Regions from separate parts of the Homo sapiens genome. Here regions 2, 3, 4, 5, 6 and 7 are each linked to region 1. The links are contacts of gene promoters, found by promoter capture Hi-C in blood cells and fetal thymus (Javierre and others, 2016). All regions are on one chromosome and are shown on one strand. Each heading gives the region's core, a stretch centred on a gene start or on the middle of the fragment in contact. The rest is flanking DNA. Distances are from core to core; before and after follow the strand shown. Region 1 holds the start of RBMS1 (RNA binding motif single stranded interacting protein 1). Region 2 has its middle 160 kb from the start of TANK-AS1. Region 3 has its middle 180 kb from the start of TANK-AS1. Region 4 has its middle 220 kb from the start of TANK-AS1. Region 5 has its middle 280 kb from the start of TANK-AS1. Region 6 has its middle 300 kb from the start of TANK-AS1. Region 7 has its middle 330 kb from the start of RBMS1.

Region 1 (2,710 bases), core at 133-2,632:
TTCTCACCTATACTTATATTTATTTTGTTTTTGTCAAACATGTAAGATCTAGAAATTTGTCTAAACCATAGAACGATTATAAGGGTTTCAGGTCCTTATTTTGTCATTGTTTTAAAGTATCTTACTAAACCTATTTTAAAATGTTATCATATAAAAATAATAACTGTTTAACAAAATAATGCATTCCAGTTGAGTTTAATTTACCTTGTGCTATTAACAAAAGACTCTTCAAAAACCAAAATGACAAAGTAAACAAGGTCTATTTAATAACAAACACAGTTTTTTATTACATTTTATTAGATGTGCCGGAACCCTAATTTGAGGATGCTTGCTTACCTATGCTATCCGTATGTACATTTTGGTATTAGCTCTCTTTTTGAGCTGGAATATAAAAGTCTTCTGCAGGCAGCTTCGGGGACCAATTAATTCCATTAAATTATATCTAGTTATGTAGTGAACTGAACCACTGCTGGTCTGAGGCTGTCTAGAGCTGTGACAATTAGGAGATGGAGAGAGGCAGAAAGAGAGATTGATTTTATATGTCACTGAAGCACACTGCAACAATATGCCAGCGTGACTTTCAAAATGGCCTTAAAATATTCCAAACTCAGGGAGTTTCCTTGCTCCTGAGTGGGAGTTGACAGACTGTCTGGCAGCATTAGAAAGAGGCAGAGAAAAGCTGATGTCTATATTGTGTCCTCTAATAACATTCTGCCTCTTTGCGGCATCCCCCTCTTAGAAGGATCCGTCTATATGTTGTGAGGGGTGTGTGTGTGTGTGTGTGTGTGTGTGTATGTATGTATGTGCTTTGCCTCCCCTTGTGCAAGGGGCATGATTTCACGTCTCACATCTGGGAAAACCAAACCGAAGGACGCTAACCCTCCCAAGGTCACCTAGATTAGTCTTGTGGCCCCGGGTCGGGGGTGGGTGGGAGGAACAGAACCCAGGTGTCCAGACTCCAGCTTTGTTGGGCATTAAATCATTTTCCTTCCCTTGTGAAAAAAAATTACTGGGCGGTGGGAAGTGAACGATTAATCAGATTTCCTCTTTTCCCTTATTTCCCCTCCCCCTTACGAAGATAAAAACTCGGGAAAGCAAAAGAGGTGCCCGCCCTGCAGTTCTTAAGCTGGGTCCCCCCGCATTCCCCCTCCACCCCCACTCCCACTCCCATTTCCCCACCCCCGACACAAAGCGATCTGGACTCACAGGGCTTCCGCCCGTCCAACCGCGAGCCTGGGAGGTGAGGAGTGGTTAAAACTCAGCCCTCACCTCCAGCGGGTCCCGGGCTCGGCGGCGCCCAGGCCCCGCCCCCGCCCGCCCTTCCCCCACGGCCTCGGAACGCCAGCCCCTCTCCTCTCTCCACATCGGGCGCACCCACCCCAGATGCCGCCTGGCACCAAGCGCAGCCGCCGCTGCCGCACTTTCCACTTGTATTGATCACCTCTCAGCCCCGCGCAGCCGGCTCGCCCGAGCGGACCGCGGCCAGCGCGCCAGCCCTTGGCAGCCCCGGAGCAGTCGGGCTCCGGGAGGAAACTCCTTGGGAGCGCCCTGTCCGGGGTGCCCTCTGCGCTCTGCAGTGTCTTTCTTTCTGCCTGGGAGGAGGAGGAGGAGGAGGAAGAGGAGGAGGAGGAGGAGGAGGAGGAGGAAGAGGAGGAGGAGGAGGAGGACGTCTGGTCCCGGCTGGGAGGTGGAGCAGCGGCAGCAGCAGCAGCCGCCGCCGCCGCCGCCGCTGCCGCCGCCGCCGGAAAGGGAGAGGCAGGAGAGCCCGAGACTTGGAAACCCCAAAGTGTCCGCGACCCTGCACGGCAGGCTCCCTTCCAGCTTCATGGGCAAAGTGTGGAAACAGCAGATGTACCCTCAGTACGCCACCTACTATTACCCCCAGTATCTGCAAGCCAAGGTAAAGGGGCGCCGGGGAGAGGTGACGGCCGGAGGAGGGGGCCCGGGGACGCGCGCAGGGTCAGGCCTGGGGAGGGGGGCGCGCGGCGAACCCCCGCCACCGCCGGGCGGAGTTGCTGGAAGGTTGCTAACTATAGCGCTGGCCTGGGCAGAGCCGGGCGGCGCGCGGGGCGGCGGCTTCCCTGGGAGCGGAGTGCGGGGATCGGGTTACAGAAAGCCGCGGGGGGAGAGACTAGACAGGAAAGAGCCACCAGCCCCTTCCTGGCCCGGCCAGCGGGGAGGGTCGTGGGGTCGAGCGGCGCCCCTCGCCGAGCCCTGGCTGGCCGGCGGCCGTCGCCTGGTGTGCGCGTCTGGATCCGCTGGTGGCCCGGCTTTTCGACCCCTTCTCCAAGGGCCTCGCCCTGTAAGCTGTAACTCTTCGCTCCCCTCGCCGTGGCGCGGAGCCTCCCGCCCCCCAGGGACGCCCCTCCACCTCCCGCGCACGCGATGACTGGGGCTGGAGGGGCGGCGGGGCCGGGATATTTTCCTCCCCGCCTCCGGCCCTGAGCGCCCGCCCCTCGCCTCTGATCTTTGTGCGGTGTGGCACTTCACCTGGTTACTGATTTCTACTTTTACGCTGGTGTTTTGGGTAGAAAAGTGGCCAAAGTTCACTCGCGTTCATTGATGTCCCTTCTAATCTCTAGAGGTTTTGCAAAGGAGGGACAATGGGCAGATTTCAGTGCAGAGAAAGAAGTGACTTCGTATTTGGTTAAAAAAGAAACAAAAACAAAACTAGCTTATATGTTTGCCACAGATCGATTTCCAATGTTGC
Region 2 (2,710 bases), core at 155-2,654, 500 kb before region 1:
GGGTATTCAATTAGGAAAAGAGAAAGTCAAATTGTCCCTGTTTGCAGACGACATGATTGTATATCTAGAAAACCCCATTGTCTCAGCCCAAAATCTCCTTAAGCTGATAAGCAACTTCAGCAAAGTCTCAGGATACAAAATCAATGTGCAAAAATCACAAGCATTCTTATACACCAATAACAGACAAACAGAGAGCCAAATCATGAGTGAACTCCCATTCACAGTTGCTTCAAAGAGAATAAAATACCTAGGAATCCAACTTACAAGGGATATGAAGGACCTCTTCAAGGAGAACTACAAACCGCTGCTCAATGAAATAAAAGAGGATACAAACAAATGGAAGAACATTCCATGCTCATGGGTAGGAAGAATCAATATCATGAAAATGGCCATACGGCCCAAGGTAATTTATAGATTCAATGCCATCCCCATCAAGCTACCAATGACTTTCTTCACAGAATTGGAAAAAACTACTTTAAAGTTCATATGGAACCAAAAAGGAGCCCGCATCGCCAAGTCAATCCTAAGCCAAAAGAACAAAGCTGGAGGCATCACCCTACCTGACTTCAAACTATACTACAAGGCTATAGTAACCAAAAGAGCATGGTACTGGTACCAAAACAGAGATATAGATCAATGGAACAGAACAGAGCCCTCAGAAATAACGCTGCATATCTACAACTATCTGATCTTTGACAAACCTGAGAAAAACAAGCAATGGGGAAAGGATTCCCTATTTAATAAATGGTGCTGGGAAAACTGGCTAGCCATATGTAGAAAGCTGAAACTGGATCCCTTCCTTACACCTTATACAAAAATTAATTCAAGATGGATTAAAGACTTAAATGTTAGACCTAAAACCATAAAAACCATAGAAGAAAACCTAGGCAATACCATTCAGGACCTAGGCATGGGCAAGGACTTCATGTCTAAAACACCAAAAGCAATGGCAACAAAAGCCAAAATTGACAAATGGGATCTAATTAAACTAAAGAGCTTCTGCGCAGCAAAAGAAACTACCATCAGAGTGAACAGACACCTACAAAATGGGAGAAAATTTTCGCAACCTGCTCATCTGACAAAGGGCTAATATCCAGAATCTACAATGAACTCAAACAAATTTACAAGAAAAAAACAAAAAACCCCATCAAAAAGTGGGCAAAGGATATGAACAGACACTTCTCAAAAGAAGACATTTATGCAGCCAAAAGACACATGAAAAGATGGTCATCATCACTGGCCATCAGAGAAATGCAAATCAAAACCACAATGATATACCATCTCACACCAGTTAGAATGGCAATCATTAAAAAGTCAGAAAACAACAGGTGCTGGAGAGGATGTGGAGAAATAGGAACACTTTTACACTGTTGGTGGGACTGTAAACTAGTTCAACCATTGTGGAAATCAGTGTGGCGATTTCTCAGGGATCTAGAACTAGAAATACCATTTGACCCAGCCATCCCATTACTGGGTATATACCCAAAGGACCATAAATCATGCTGCTATAAAGACACATGCACACATATGTTTATTGCGGCACTATTCACAATAGCAAAGACTTGGAACCAACTCAAATGTCCAACAATGATAGATTTGATTAAGAAAATGTGGCACATATACACCATGGAATACTATGCAGCCATAAAAAATGATGAGTTCATGTCCTTTGTAGGGACATGGATGAAATTGGAAATCATCATTCTCAGTAAACTATTGCAAGGGCGAAAAACCAAACACCGCATGTTCTCACTCATAGATGGGAATTGAACAATGAGAACACATGGACACAGGAAGGGGAACATCACACTCTGGGGACTGTTTTGGGGTGGGGGGAGGGGGGAGGGATAGCATTAGGAGATATACCTAATGCTAAATGACAAGTTAATGGATGCAGCACACCAGCATGGCACATGTATACATATGTAACTAACCTGCACATTGTGCACATGTACCCTAAAACTTAAAGTATAATAATAATAAAAATATTAAAAAAGACAAATAATTAAATAATTTAAATATTTTTTAAAAAACAGAAATAGACAAATTTGCCACTGTTTTCAAGTTTTCTTTTCTTTTTTCTTCCTTTTTTTTTTTTTGAGATGGAGTCTCACTCTGTCACCCAGGCTGGAGTGCAGTGGCACAGTCTCTGCTCACTGCAACCTCCACCTCCCAGGTTCAAAAGATTGTATATGCCTCAGCCACCTGAGTAGCTGGCATTACAGATGCATGCCACCACGCCTGGCTAATTTTTGTGTTTTTAGTAGAGACAGGGTTTCACCATGTTGGCCAGGCTGGTCTTGAACCCCTGGCTTCAAGTCATCTGCCTGTCTCAGCCTCCCAAAGTGCTGGAATTACAAGCATGAGCCACTGCCCCTGGCTTTTTTCAAGTTTCTAAATATTAACTTTTTATGGAGAGACTGTTTAACTCTGTCATGAAAACTATTTCACCTCTGTACAATGTAGAAGTAACCTGTAAACAAATCACTAATGGTATTCTTGTTTAACATTTAAAATAAGTTTTCTCTAAAATGGATAATCCTATAACAATAGTATCAATGACTATTTCTAAGCCTTCCCATGCAAGGTGCTATGCAAAATGCTTCATATGAATTATCTAATAGATCTGCATGAGGACAAATATTGAACTTCTATTAAAAATAAAGACATTGAAAACCAAAGTGTTTAGAATGCTGATAAGGCAAAATGA
Region 3 (2,710 bases), core at 121-2,620, 490 kb before region 1:
GGTGGGGACACAGAACCAAAGTATATCACTATTTTTATAAATTCTGTATTCTTTGTCATGTTTGGCTACTGAAATCTGTGTTCTATTAACTTAGTGGCCATCTAGTGTTTTGACAGAGTTTTCCTAAATGCCTGGAGCCAACAAAAGAATATAAAATACTTTCCCAATCTTTGCAGATTGGCTGTCTGTGAGAGCATGGTATCAGTGCTTAGCTAGACCACTGTGTGTGTGTGTGTGTGTGTGTGTGTGTGTGTGTGTGTGTGTGTGTGTGTGTATAGATAGAGTTTCACTATGTTGCCCATACCAGACTGAAACTCCTAGGTTCAAGCAATTCTCCCACCTCAGCCTCTCAAGTAGCTGGGACCATATGCATACATTGTCATACCAGCTCAGGCCATTTTTTCAACTCTGTCTTAGCCTTCAGTTCCTGCTTGTTCAGAATCTGAAGGTCAGTGAGAGGTGAAAGCTTAGGGTCTTCTCAAGACTTTTCTGAACCTTCAGCCAGCTCTAGGTATGTGTGTAGTCTTTTCAATTCCCCTATATATAGGAAATGTTAAAAAGTCTTTATCTTCTCCCGTATCTCTTTTCCCTATGCATTTCTTCCAAGTTTTTTAGTCTGTCTGTTGCTTGTCCTGACTCCTTGCTCCAGGCTCCTGTGGTGAATAGCTTTGTTTTTGGAAACATTGCCCAAGAAGCCTCCTCAGCCCTGGGGATGCTCTGCATCAAGCAAAACAAAGGCAAACCTTGTACCTTCAGAGAGTCATCAAAGAGGTCGAAACAGACAACCACAATTATTTGACAATAATATCCAAATTGCCCCCTTTTGCAGTAGCAACCTGTACCTGGAGTATGTGCTACCATCTTCATGGCTGCTGCTGACTGGGGAGGAGGGGATGGTAGATGAACAATCCAAAATGCCATAGTACTCTCTTACCACGGTGCAGCAACTTCTTTCATCAAGTTTGCCCTGGTGGTTGTAAACTTTTAATTAAATTCCGGAGTTCTGCGAAGGTTGATTCTGACAGTTTTTATTAGCTTATTGGTTTCATTTTTTAAATTAAAAATTTTTAAAAATGTATTGTGTTTTTATACATGTATATATATAAAATTAGATTTTCCATTTTAATCATTTTAAAGTATAAAATTCAGTTGTTTAATTGCATTCATATTGTCGAGCAAATACTACTGTCTGTTAGTTGCTTTTATAAAGGGATGGAGCCCTAAAATTCCCTATCTGCCATTTTTTTGGCAATGTCACTTTCTACTTTAGGTCTTCAAGGAAATAAATAGTGTGGAGTGACATGTGTTAGAAAAATTAGAGGGGCCGGGTGCAGTGGCTCACGCCTGTAATCCCAGCACTTTGGGAGGCTGAGACAGGTGGATCACCTAAGGTCAGGAGTTTGAGACCAGCCTGACCCACATGGAGAAACCCTGTCTCTACTAAAAATACAAAATAAGCCAGGCATGGTGGCGCATGCCTGTAATCCCAACTACTCAGGAGGCTGAGGCAGGAGAATCTCTTGAATCTGGGAGGCGGAGGTTGCGGTGAGCCGACATCACGCCATTGCACTCCAGCCTGGGCAACAAGAGCAAAACTATCTCAAAAAAAAAAAAAAAAGAAAAAAAGAAAAGAAAAGAAAAAGAAAAATTAGAATTCGTAACTAAATATTCATTAAAATACAGAGTGCATTGGACCTGTCAGTACTATTTTTTTAACTTCCTGTGAATCTATAAGTATTTCAAAATAAAATGTTAAAAACATATAATAATGTATTTCAGGTTCATATATTATATTTATATCTGTATATATACGTACATACATACATACATTCAGCTATTTGAAGGGGGAAAAGCCTAACCTCAAAATAGCAGATGAAACCAGTGACAAAAGAATACGGGAATAGTATACATAGTTTCCAAAGAAAATCTTGGAGTCATGCATGCCAAAAGAGTAGTCAGGAGATAATCACACTGAGTACTGAACAAACCTGGAAGAACGTTTGGTTTGACTGGAAATTTTTTAAAAAGATAGAGTTGGAATGGGTTTTAAAAGATGCTCCTGCAAGACTGAGTTGATTATATTTTCACCGTTAAAGCAAATTTGGCATCAAGTAAATAAATATACTTGGACACACACATACACACAAACTTAGCAAGAACTAAGAAAGAAGATGCTAGAACTCTAAAATAAATATAGGCTACCAGAGAGGGATCAAATAGCACTCTAGGGATTGTAAAGGAGAAAAGCAATTATTCTTTACTCTCTTAAGCTTAGTGACTATGGCACTGCAAATTAAACTGGCAAAAGACAGATTAATAGAAAAAAGGCATACGTGTTTTATTTAATGTTAATGTTTTATTTTTGTGTGTACACAGAAGTCTTACAGAAAAGAAAGTAAAAATCCCAAGAAGCAGTTAGGCCTGACAGCTTATATACCATTTTAACAAAGAGAAATAAATTTGTGAAGAAGTGACAAGACAAAGAAAAAGGATTTGGCATTTCCATGCCATTGTTTCCCAATAGCAACTGAAAAAACAAAAGGCACCAAGATCATTATTGCTTTGTTTCCATCTTTAAAATCACATGCAAGTACTTTAATTATGGAACTTAGTTTGCATCCAGAACCTGACCTGGAAGAGACCAAGGAATGTGATTTTTAGCTTTGCAGCCCCTGGAGATGGAAACACACATGAGAAGAAATGGGGATGG
Region 4 (2,710 bases), core at 110-2,609, 450 kb before region 1:
TAAAATGCCTCAATGGAAGAAACATTACCGTATCTGACATGGTATATGTGATTGTGGATGCCATTTGGTTATGTTAACTTTGGTCCACTATCATTCATGATGATCCTTCTAGTTTTTGCAAGGGCCAAATAGGTGAATTGAATGAGGCTATCCCTTCATCCTTCAAGTCTTTGGTGGTGGTGCTAATTTCTGCAATTTCTCTTGAGATGTAGGATTGCAGTTTGGGGAACTTCCCATGTCTCTTCCAAACCCACAGTGGCTCTTATTTCAGTGGCCAAGGAACCAATCTTGATTGTACTGAGGGACTGGGCAAATAACCACACAGGTGGCCTGCGGCCCCATTGGACGACTATGAGATGGACATGGGCCAGGATTCTATTCATCACCTGGCTTCTACATGCCTCTTTCTAATGAAGGGTCACAATAGCATTTTCAATTCCTTGCTTTTAGAGCCAACTCAGACTCTGAGTCTAAAAGTCCTTGCATGGTCTGGGTATTTTTGTTTCCCCAGTGTATATCTGATATTCTGGTAAATAGCTTCAAGTTCCTTTGGGAAAGGATCAGGAGATATTTATTTTAAATTTTTGCAGTGGTGTTGCAGGATATTGCCAAATGGACCTAGTCTCTTTGATAGTCACTGAGCTCTGGATCAGAGACTGAGCTCTGTGTCTGGGAACTGACTTAGATCTAGTAAATGGGTGAGAGAGTGTGATTTCCCATTGGGGCGACAGACACCAGTTTTTTGCTTTCCAGATCTCTCCTGCTGGCTCTATAGATGAAGTGAAACTCTAGTTGGCTGCCCATCTGTCTTGCTCCCATGATTTATTAACAACTGCTACCGATTCCTATGGGTCAAAGCTCTCAGGTCATCACTCTGGCCTCACTGTTTATTTCAGAAATTATGACCACCCTATTTCTGTGAAGACAAATTAGCCTCTCCTATTTGAGAATCCTATCAATTCCATTGATACCAGGGAGACTGGTTCTAACATAGCACTTCCCACTGTCAACAACACAACCAAGCTTCTCCACAATGGTGGTGCTCCCCTCACTCTGCATTCTTCATTGACTGATTGTAGGAGTGTTCTTTGGACTCCCTCAGGCAACAGAGTCAGGTGGTGGGTACTTTGATGTAACACAGTAAACCCATTCCAACATTTCCACCTCCCTGAGCCCTTCAAGCCCTTCCCCAAAACCCTGCCAAGGCCTGACTTACCTAATTACTTTGATAAGGACAAAGCTATAAGGAACAATTTTAGCAGTGTATTAGGACCAGTTCTATGTGTCTTTGCTAAGATGTTGAACCCCATGTCACGGGAGAGTGTTCTAACATCAATACATTCTCCCTTCTCCAGCCTTATGTGCTAACCTTGTGTTGGGTACTCTAAGATCTACTCCTACACCTGTTCCCCTGGCTTCTCCTGGGTGCATTAACCAGGTCTTAAAATTCTCTGGTTGTACTACTTTCTTCCAAAGCCAGGATCATATACACTTCACAATGGTGCTGTGGCCTAAACATTCCTATCATTATAGCTCTCATTCTATAGGATAGGAAACAATGGAGGGAATCTGCTAATTGTTTAGTATGTATGCTTACAGATTAGATAAATAACTTTCTGTTGGGTCCAGTGTGGAGACAGTGAGGGTAGATGGGAGCAGAACATGACAGGGAGGAGAGTATCTTATGAAGCTTCTTCCTCCGATGAGGTTTTTGCAGTTTCTAGGTCAAGGTTTCTCAACAATGGGACCATTGACATTTGGACTAGATAATTCTTTGTTGTGAGGGGCTATGCTGTACTTATAGGACATTAACAGCATCCTACAATGACCTCTACCTATTAGGTGCCAATAGTACCTCCCTCTCTCAGTGGTGATAACTGTATCTCCCCAGTGTGGACCACTGATTAAATGTTAGAAGAGGGCTCTCTTCCTGCAGCCAGCCTCCTGCAGATGTCTCTTGGGTGATGGCAGAGTTCTCAGGGTGCAGCCGAGGTGAGCTATCATCAGGCTATTCCTGTGCACATCTGGTAGTTATAGCAATAGCTAGAGAAAAAAGGTGGGCTAAGAAGATGTGAGCCAGGGCATAAAATGTCTGTGACACAGAGGTATGTAACACCCACTTCAATTCACAGACGGGAACACTAAGGCTCAGGAAGGTTAAACAACGTAAGTCGAAGCACTGTGCATAAATATATGTAAGACATAATACCTCCCTTTGAGAAATTTTCAGTCCAGCAAATTGTGAAGTATTATATAATAAATAATTGCATGTAAGTGTTGATAAGGTCATACGACCATCAAGTGACAAAGATAAAAATAGAATGAGGTCTATTTGGCTTCCAAATCTGTATTCATTTTAGTGTACAGATATGCCTCAGGATTTCTTATGTATACTGCATACTAGAATTTTTGTTAAATTATTTGCATGCCCGTTATCATTGAACATTTGTAGGGATCTAAATAGTGGGCATTCTCACCCCCCATTTGTCAGATAAGGAAGTGGCCCTTTCTTGTACACCGTCTTATGCCCTAGATGCATTACGCTTAAAGAAGACATTGCTTTGTAGAGAAGGGTGACCTCACACTGATAAAATCAATGTGGACAAGTATGGAAATGCAGGCACAGGATAATGCAATATATTGCTAGAAACAGGAGAACCCAGTGACCAATTCCATTAACTCCATCTTCATCCTTCCACAGTGTGACTAA
Region 5 (2,710 bases), core at 145-2,644, 380 kb before region 1:
AACCATTTTGTTCTACACTTAAATCCTACAAAACCTCTGGAGATCATTATGCAAGGCCTGCTGTTTCCTGTCTTCTTGTGTTCATGCTGCTTCCTGTGCCTGGAAAACTCTTTCTTCCTTATCTACTTATGCTTCCAGACTTGGCTCAACAAAAGCCTTCTCTCTAAACCTTTTCTTGTCTTTCCAGATTAAGATGAAGCCCCTTTCTTCTGCAGTCCATTACACTCTTTGTGTGCTAGACAGAATGATGCCCCCCAAAAGATGTCCACATGCTAATCTCCAGAAATTGTGAATGTATTATCTCATATGGTGAAAGGGTCTTATCTTGAATTATCTGGCATACCCAATATAAACACATGGAGTCTTTATAAGAGGGAAGCAGGAGGGTCAGAAGGAGATGGGACCGAAGAAGCAGAGGAGGTGGGGGAAAGAGAGAGTACACACAAGTGTGAATGAGTGCTGAGCTTGAAGATGGAGGAAGGACCACAAGCAGGGCAGGGCAGTGGCCTGTAGAAGCTGAAAAAGGCAAGGAAAGGATGTTCCCCTAGACCCTCTAGAAGGACCATAGCCCTGCCAACACTTTGATTTTAGGACTTCTGCCCTCCAGAACTATAAGATAATAAGTTTGTGTTGTTTTGAGCAACAAATTTGTGGTGATTTGTTATAGCAGCAATAAGAAATGAATGCACTAAGCATACCTCTGTTCATGTTCTCTTATATGTTACTATACTTATTTAAGCCCCCTAATTAGTTATGACCTATTCAGTTACCCATTCAACAGCAACAGTTAAGTCTTGAGGGCTTTCTTTGGTCTTGGTACTGTTCATGGTGCTAGAAATCCAATAGTGTATGAAACAAACGAAGTCACTGAGCTTATGGAGATTACAACTCAATGTCTGGCACATACGAGGCTTTAAAAAATGTTTGTTGAATGAATGAATCAAGACAGTTTTATAATTATGGACTTAAATAAAAGTGATAAAAGTAATTGTTTCTTGCTAAGAGACAGGGTCTTGCTATGTTGCCCATGCTAGAGTACAGTGTTTTTTTTACAGGTACAATCCCACTACTCATCAGCATGCAGGCTTTGACCTGCTCCATTTCCAACTTGGGCCAGTTGACCCCTTCTTAGGCAACATAGTGGTCCCCTGCTCTTGAGAGATCACAGTATTGATGCTGAACTTAGTGTAGACTCCCGATTGGCATAGCGTACTACAGCCTAGAACTCCTGGGCTCAAGTGATTCTCCTGCCTCAGCTGCCCAAGTAGCTGGGACTATGGTTGTGGGCTATTTACTATGCCCAGCACAAGTAACCTTTATTTAAATAACAATTCTACAGAAAATGGTGTTACTGTAAATCATCAGAGATGATAAGACCATGCCCAAATTCATACCAAAACAAATTTTACACCGTTTCTGAATAAGAAGGAATTCATGGAGTCAAAATTTTTATTATTAGTTTTTTCAGTTTCTGAAAAATCAAATGTATACACCAGGGCAAACACTATACAGTTTACAAAGGCAGTTGATTCAAAGTGACGATACTTGGGCAGAAGAGATGAAACTTTGTGCTATTTGGTTTACCCTGCAGACTAGTAATAACATGAAAACAAATTCCAGGTAGGCAAATAATTGATTGGATCCTCAGATTTTTAGAAGCACATTGAGAGGTTGATACTTTTTATAGTGGCTAAGAAATGTGACAAGAGTCTCAACAGTGTTCAGTAAACACAAAGAATAAACAAACACTGCTTCTTTTCAGTTTTCAGTGATAAAGCCAAGAATCTTGGAGGGGAGAGACAATTCAGTACAGGTTCTGAATTTCTAAATGACCTCCCCCTTTCTTCTCAGTATTGTGCTTACCAAAAGCTGGATATCTAACTCATGACTAATTGCTTAGCAGAAACTTAGCTCCTGGTTTTCCTTAAGGCTTGGGAACCCAGTTCTGAGAGACAAAGTTCTCTTAGGTTCCATTTTGTGGTCAGGACCAGCCGTGTGTGCCATAGGCAATTTGTAGAAAAGCGTATGTAGTAGGAGAATAAACCATGACAGAACGTGGGCTGCAGAGTAACATAGATCTGGCCATAGGAGAACATGTCTGAACACTGAATGAAAGCCTCTCCAGAGTTGAGAGCCAACAAATTTCCCATGGGGACTTGGACTTTTAAGCAGAAGTTTCTACTGGGTAAGACTGACTCTTACAAGCATTTAGCATTAATTCTCTCTTGATCCGAGCAAACGAGAAAACATGGCTTTGGAGACTTAAAAAAACATTATTTGAACTCATAGAAGAGATGATTCCAATGAAGACAATTTCTTCTTTCCAGCACCTTTCCAAAATAAGAAGAAATAAGAAACGCATAAAACCCATCAGAACAAAGAGAAAGGAATATGTAACATTAGTGAATATGGGTTTTTGTTTTTAATTTGCTTTGCAATGGGAATGGGTTTAATCTTTGCGAGGCTACATACATATTACTATTTTATTCCTCTAGCTAACATACACTAAGCTAATCCATGATATATAATAGAACAAAAAGGCTGACTCCAAGGACTAAGGTATCAACAATTCTGCTTGGTGAGCCTAGGATCACAGGTCCTATTACACAAGCCTGTGACCTGCCAAGGCCCCTAGGGCATATGTGAGAAAGTAGTCAGAGAGCAGATGGAGGCCTGATAACTGACTGAGCATGGGGATGAAGCCATGATT
Region 6 (2,710 bases), core at 68-2,567, 360 kb before region 1:
AGAAATGATCAGTTTTATTTTTTTAAAAAAAGCATAGAACAGATTTAAGATCAGATCATAAGGCAGTGGGAAAAAAAATTCAGAGCTTGAAAATTTCCATTTACTTCATATCAATCTTAGGCTCAGGCACCCACTCCTTCCTTACACACATAGTTAATATAGTCTGAACTTAATTTATTCACCAATTACATTCACTTGCTTCCCTAAGTGACAGCAGAACTTTATTATGGTATTTATCAACATATATAAAAAGCACACTTTTCAGTTGATTTTTAAAAAAATTAAAATGAAGTTTTGAGATTGTGTTTGTATCACATTTTTTGGGAGGGCAATTTAATAGCAACTCACAGTATTGTTGTAGCAGGGGTGATTATGAAGTTGCATAAAGTATTAGTAATGGAGTTCAACATGGAAGTCTGTAAAGATGAAAATCAGAAAAATCACAAACTGTCACCAGAGTAAGTAGTTGTAATTACCTCTAAAGGTAAAAGCTTATATCTATTTTTTACACAAATTTTTTAACCAATGTATCTGTAGTTTCTAGATGACCATTTATGTAATTTGTGATGGGATTGCTTGACAAATGAGACAGGTAAACAGGAACTGATAGTAACGAAAAACAGTGGTAATGTATTTGTTCAAAGCTGCCTGAGACTGCTTTAAATGTAACATGCCTCTCTATGAGAAACACATGATTCTGGTGGAAGGGTAGAATTCCCATGAAATGGTTAATTTACTAAAGATACCAAGCCATTTGGTAAATGCAGGGTGTTCAGTGCTAAGAGTGAAGCAAAGTGGCAAGTTGCCAAGGAGAGATGGAACAGGTTCATAGAGATGTATGTTGCAAGCATTTTGATTTGTGGCAAACTTGTTTGCCTCAGGAAGTCACTGACAGTGGGGGAGGAAAGGAGGTAGGTGCTATAGTTGTGTCTAACAAACACTGATCCAGACAAAACAACAACCAAAACCCAGGAGCTGACACTCAATCATTAAAGGATCCCAGTCGTTGTACAGTGCACCTATCTGGCCAACCCTCAAAAGAACTCAAAGAAAGCAGAATCTTAATTTCTCAAACTAGGAAATGGAAAACTGCAATATCTGAACACTTGTATCTAAGCTCAGATAGGAGCAGTGATAGTATTAAAATAGAATGGGTTTAATAATAAATCTTGGCCATGCAACTGCAATCTACAGAGTAGTAAATTTTTAATGTTCATTAGTTCTGCCTCCTTTTAAACAGTATACAAGTGTACTATGTCTGCGTGTACAATGATGCCTTTATATTGTGGCAGTAGTTGAAGAAATGGCTGTGCCATGATTAATTGTAGAACAGAATTGCTTGACAGCAGAGCTGTCAAATATCAAAACACTTGCCAGGATTTTTAATTGGACAAGCTGAGGAATGTATAGTGTTGCTATAACTGAAATCAATCTATAATTTGAATAAAAATTAACTCTTTAATACTGCCTTCCTTCTTACCTGCACAACGTCAAAATAAAAACCAAACCAAAACAAAACAAAAAAAACCCAACATGAACAAGCAAGCAAACAAACAAATGAAAATCCTCCATAGAAATGTTTGCATGCAGACATGCATTCATGATTGATGACTGATAAATAAAGGAGCAGTGTTTATAAGGCTCTTTGAAGTTTGCAAAGAGCTTACATGTACATTATTTTGTTTAATTGTCATAATAACACCATGAGATGGATTGTGCAGGCATTTCAGTTCAGTTTTCAATGAAGCCTATACTGTACCAGGTTTTGTGCTAGACACATAAATTAGAGGACATCCCTGTGGCCAATAAATTTGACAAAAGAGGAAACTGAGTCTCAGAGAGAGAGCGAGAGAGAGAGAGAGATGGTCCAGTAAGATTTTTTGCTGTAGATACCAAAAGTCTGTATCTTTGGATGCAAGTTCCAATGCTTTTATCCTTTTACGATGGTACCTCTGAATGGAATAAAGCCAAATTAGCCAAGAGAGAAATACATTTTTGTTGAAAGCTGGTTTCCAAGGCACTCTAAATTTCATACAGTGAAACCAGCGTAGCAGATAACTCAATTCAAAGATCACCTGCCTATTAAAGCAAGGTTTTTAGGCCACTGATTTTACTTCCTTATGAGTGATGCTGCATAAGCTTGCATTAAAACAGTGAATTTTTCAGCTTTGACATGTAACGAGCTTGGAAGACATGACTCTCAGTCTTACAAGAAAAAGCTAGATGAATTAAAAATTAATTGTCTTTCTTGAACCTATCAGAGAACTTAAGTTGCAGGTCAAACAGTCACCCCAAAATGTGAAGAAACAGGGGCATCCAGAGAGATATAGCTGTCATCTGTTTACTGGGAGCAGATGCTCCTGGAGCCATAAACTGGTAAGAATATTTAATGAGGACTTTGTTGGATTGCTGGAGGCTTAGTGTGGACCAGCAAAGACTTAGAAACTCCTGGGGGCTCCGCCTTTGGGGGCCTATGAATTTGTGGATTTTACCTCCAGAAACCCTAGCAGGGTTCTCACTGTGAAAATTAGAGATAAATCCCCTTGTAATTTTCACAGGGGGAGGGTACATGAAACCATATTGAAATACACCTTGGGAAAAGTAACTAGGTAAGTCAAGCTGATAGTATGTATCCTTCATATGACATGATGAGAATGGCATTATCCCTCTGTGCTCTTGCTCCCCAAAACTCATAACCCCAGTTTAATCA
Region 7 (2,710 bases), core at 139-2,638, 330 kb before region 1:
CCATAAAAGAAAACTACAGAGCAATATCTCCATGAACATAGATGCAAAAATCTTCAACTCAATATTGGCAAATTGAATCCAACAATGTATAAAAGGAATTATACAGTGTGTTTATGTGGGATTATTTCCAGGAATTCAAAGTTGGTTCAACACCAGAAAATAGATTAATCTAATCCATCACATCAACAAGCTAAAGAATAAAAATTACTTGATCATGTCAACAGATGCAGAGAAAGCATTTGACAAAATCCACCACCCACTCATGTAAAAACACTCAACAAACTAGGAATAGAGGGAGCATACTGAACTGGATTTAAAAAAATCTGCATAAAATCTACTGCTAATATCATACTTAACAATGAGAAAATATAAGCTTTCTCACTAAAATTAGGAACAACGCAAGGATACTCCCTCTAAGCACTTCTTTTTAGCATCATACTGGAAGTCCTAGCTAATGCAATATTAAGGTTTGAATGCCATCTGCCAAAACTTGTGTTGAAATTTGATTCCCAGTACGGCAGTGTTAGAAGCTAGGCCTAGTGGGAGGTGTTCAGATCACAGAGATACTGTCCTCATAAATAGATTAATGCTGCCTCGTGGAAGTGAGTGAGTTCTCACTCTAGCAGGAATGGATTCATTCCTGAGAAAGCCTTCTTGCATGTCTCTTTGCAAGTGCCCGCCTTCACTTCTGCTTTTCACCAAGAGTTGAAGCATCACAAGATCCTCACCAGATGGTTTGCCCCATCGTGAACTTTCTAGCCACCAGAATCATGAGCCAAATGAACCTATTTTAAAAAATAATTACCCAGTCTCAGATATCCTGTTATAGCCGCAAAAAATGGACTAAGACATGCAGTAAGACGAGAAAGGAAATAAAAGGTGCACGGTTTGGGAAGGAATAAATAAAACTTTCTTTGTTCTCAGATTGCATAATTGTTTATGGAGAAAATATAAGAGAGTTGACAAAAGAACTTCTGGAACTATTAAATCATTTTAGCAAGTTTGCAGGAAACAAGGTTATATTAAAAAGTCAATCATTTTTCTCTATATTAACAAGGAACAAGTAGAATTTGAAGTAAAAACACAATAACAATTATATGAGGAGCCCGCAAAATGAAATACTTAGGTATATATCTAGCAAAATATGTACAAAATCTATATGAGGAAACCTAAAAAAAAAAAACCCGATGAAAGATGTCAAAAAAAAAAAAAACGAAATAAATGAAGAGATAGTCTGTGTTCAGAGACAGGAAGACTCAATATTGTCAAGACATCAATTCTTCTCAACTTGACCTATAGATTCAATGCAGTCCCACTTAAATTCTCAGCAGTTATTTTAAGGATATTGGCAAACTAAATCTGAAGTTTAAATAGAGAAGCAATGACCCAGAATAACCAACATGATATTGTAGGAAAATAAGAAAGTTGGACACTACCAAACTTAAAGACATACTATATAGCTACAGTAATCAAGACAGTGTGGTATTGGTAGAAGAATAAACAAAAAGATGAGTGGAACTGAATAGAGAATCCAGAATGGACCCAGACAAGTATAGTGAACTGATATTTGACAAAGAAGCAAAGGCAATAGAATGGAACAGAGATAGTCTTTTCAACAAATGGTTCTGGAACAACTGGACATCCACATGCAAACAATTGAATCCATATGAGATTTTATGCCCTTCACAAAAATTAGCTCAAAGTGATTATAAATCTAAATGTAAAATGCAACACTATAAAACTCCTTGAAATAAAATGGGAGAAAATTGAGGTAACCTTGAGTATGGCAATGATGTTTTAGATATACCACCAAGACATGATCTATGAAAAAAATAATAAGCTAGACTTCACTAGAACTAAAAACTTCTACTCTGGAAAAGACACTGTCAAGAGAATGAGAACAGAAACCACAGAATGGGAGAAGATATTTGCAAAAGACACATTTGGTTAAGGGTTCTTATCAAAAATATAAATATTAAAACTCAACAGCAAGAAAACTAATAAATCAATTTTAAAAATGGACAAAAGACCTGAACAGACACTTCACTAAAGAAGATATACAGGTGGCGAAAAGCATATGAAAAGATGTTGAACATCACATACCATTAGGAAACTGCAAATTAAAAGGGCAAGATACCACTACACACCTATCAGAATGGCCACAATCCAAAACACTGACAATGTCAAATGCTGTGAAGGTGTGGAGTAACAGGAACTCTTGTTTGTTCTTGGTGGGAATGCAAAATGGCACAGCTACTTTGGAAGACAGTTTGGTAATGTCTTAGAAAACAAAACATTCTCTTACCGTACAATACAGCAATCATGCTTCTTGTTATTTACCCAAATGAGTTGAAAACTTAGATCCAGATAAAAACCTGGACATGAATGTTTATAGAAGCTTGATTTATAATGACCAAAACCTGGAAAAAACCAAGATGTCCTCAGTAGGTGAATGGATAAATAAGCTGTGGTAGATCCAGACAGTGAACTGTTATTCAGTGCTAAGAAGAAATGAGCTATCAAGTCATGAAAAGACATGAAGAAACCTTAACTGCATTTTACCAAGTGAAAGTAATCAATCTGAACATGCTACATACCAAAATACTACATACTATCTGATCTCAACTATAAGACATTCTGGAAAAGGCAAAACTATGGAGAAAGTAAAGACATCAGTGGTTGCTAGAGGTTGGGGGAAGGGAGGGATGAA

Evidence for each region. Contacts are between HindIII fragments. The CHiCAGO score rates a contact against its expected background, and 5 or more counts as called.
Region 2: a fragment that was not itself captured here is called in contact with the fragment with the promoter of RBMS1 in region 1 in 6 of 17 cell types (M2 macrophages, endothelial precursors, M1 macrophages and 3 more); the score reaches 8.3 in M2 macrophages.
Region 3: a fragment that was not itself captured here is called in contact with the fragment with the promoter of RBMS1 in region 1 in 6 of 17 cell types (M2 macrophages, M0 macrophages, endothelial precursors and 3 more); the score reaches 9.9 in M2 macrophages.
Region 4: a contact is called between a fragment that was not itself captured here and the fragment with the promoter of RBMS1 in region 1, in 6 of 17 cell types (M2 macrophages, M1 macrophages, M0 macrophages and 3 more). The highest score is 9.9, in M2 macrophages.
Region 5: a fragment that was not itself captured here is called in contact with the fragment with the promoter of RBMS1 in region 1 in 4 of 17 cell types (M2 macrophages, naive CD4 T cells, M0 macrophages and 1 more); the score reaches 7.0 in M2 macrophages.
Region 6: a contact is called between a fragment that was not itself captured here and the fragment with the promoter of RBMS1 in region 1, in 1 of 17 cell types (M0 macrophages). The highest score is 5.8, in M0 macrophages.
Region 7: a contact is called between a fragment that was not itself captured here and the fragment with the promoter of RBMS1 in region 1, in 2 of 17 cell types (M0 macrophages and M2 macrophages). The highest score is 6.4, in M0 macrophages.

Annotation. Positions count from the first base shown.
Region 1 is chr2:160,492,479-160,495,188 of GRCh38, reverse strand. It overlaps RBMS1 (RNA binding motif single stranded interacting protein 1), which reads left to right and starts at 1,382. Exons shown (of 14, transcript NM_016836.4): 1 at 1,382-1,900. The coding sequence starts at 1,826. RefSeq lists a silencer at 955-1,134 and an enhancer at 1,321-1,841. The HindIII fragment of the contact is 13,330 bases long and covers 1-2,710 here.
Region 2 is chr2:160,996,775-160,999,484 of GRCh38, reverse strand. No RefSeq gene overlaps it. Among named protein-coding and RNA genes, the nearest start is that of TANK-AS1, 160 kb to the left of the region's middle. The HindIII fragment of the contact is 3,574 bases long and covers 1-2,710 here.
Region 3 is chr2:160,978,842-160,981,551 of GRCh38, reverse strand. No RefSeq gene overlaps it. Among named protein-coding and RNA genes, the nearest start is that of TANK-AS1, 180 kb to the left of the region's middle. The HindIII fragment of the contact is 1,804 bases long and covers 469-2,272 here.
Region 4 is chr2:160,943,525-160,946,234 of GRCh38, reverse strand. No RefSeq gene overlaps it. Among named protein-coding and RNA genes, the nearest start is that of TANK-AS1, 220 kb to the left of the region's middle. The HindIII fragment of the contact is 667 bases long and covers 1,026-1,692 here.
Region 5 is chr2:160,876,142-160,878,851 of GRCh38, reverse strand. It overlaps the pseudogene RN7SL423P. Among named protein-coding and RNA genes, the nearest start is that of TANK-AS1, 280 kb to the left of the region's middle. The HindIII fragment of the contact is 3,214 bases long and covers 1-2,710 here.
Region 6 is chr2:160,857,399-160,860,108 of GRCh38, reverse strand. No RefSeq gene overlaps it. Among named protein-coding and RNA genes, the nearest start is that of TANK-AS1, 300 kb to the left of the region's middle. The HindIII fragment of the contact is 1,648 bases long and covers 494-2,141 here.
Region 7 is chr2:160,818,873-160,821,582 of GRCh38, reverse strand. No RefSeq gene overlaps it. Among named protein-coding and RNA genes, the nearest start is that of RBMS1, 330 kb to the right of the region's middle. The HindIII fragment of the contact is 2,025 bases long and covers 376-2,400 here.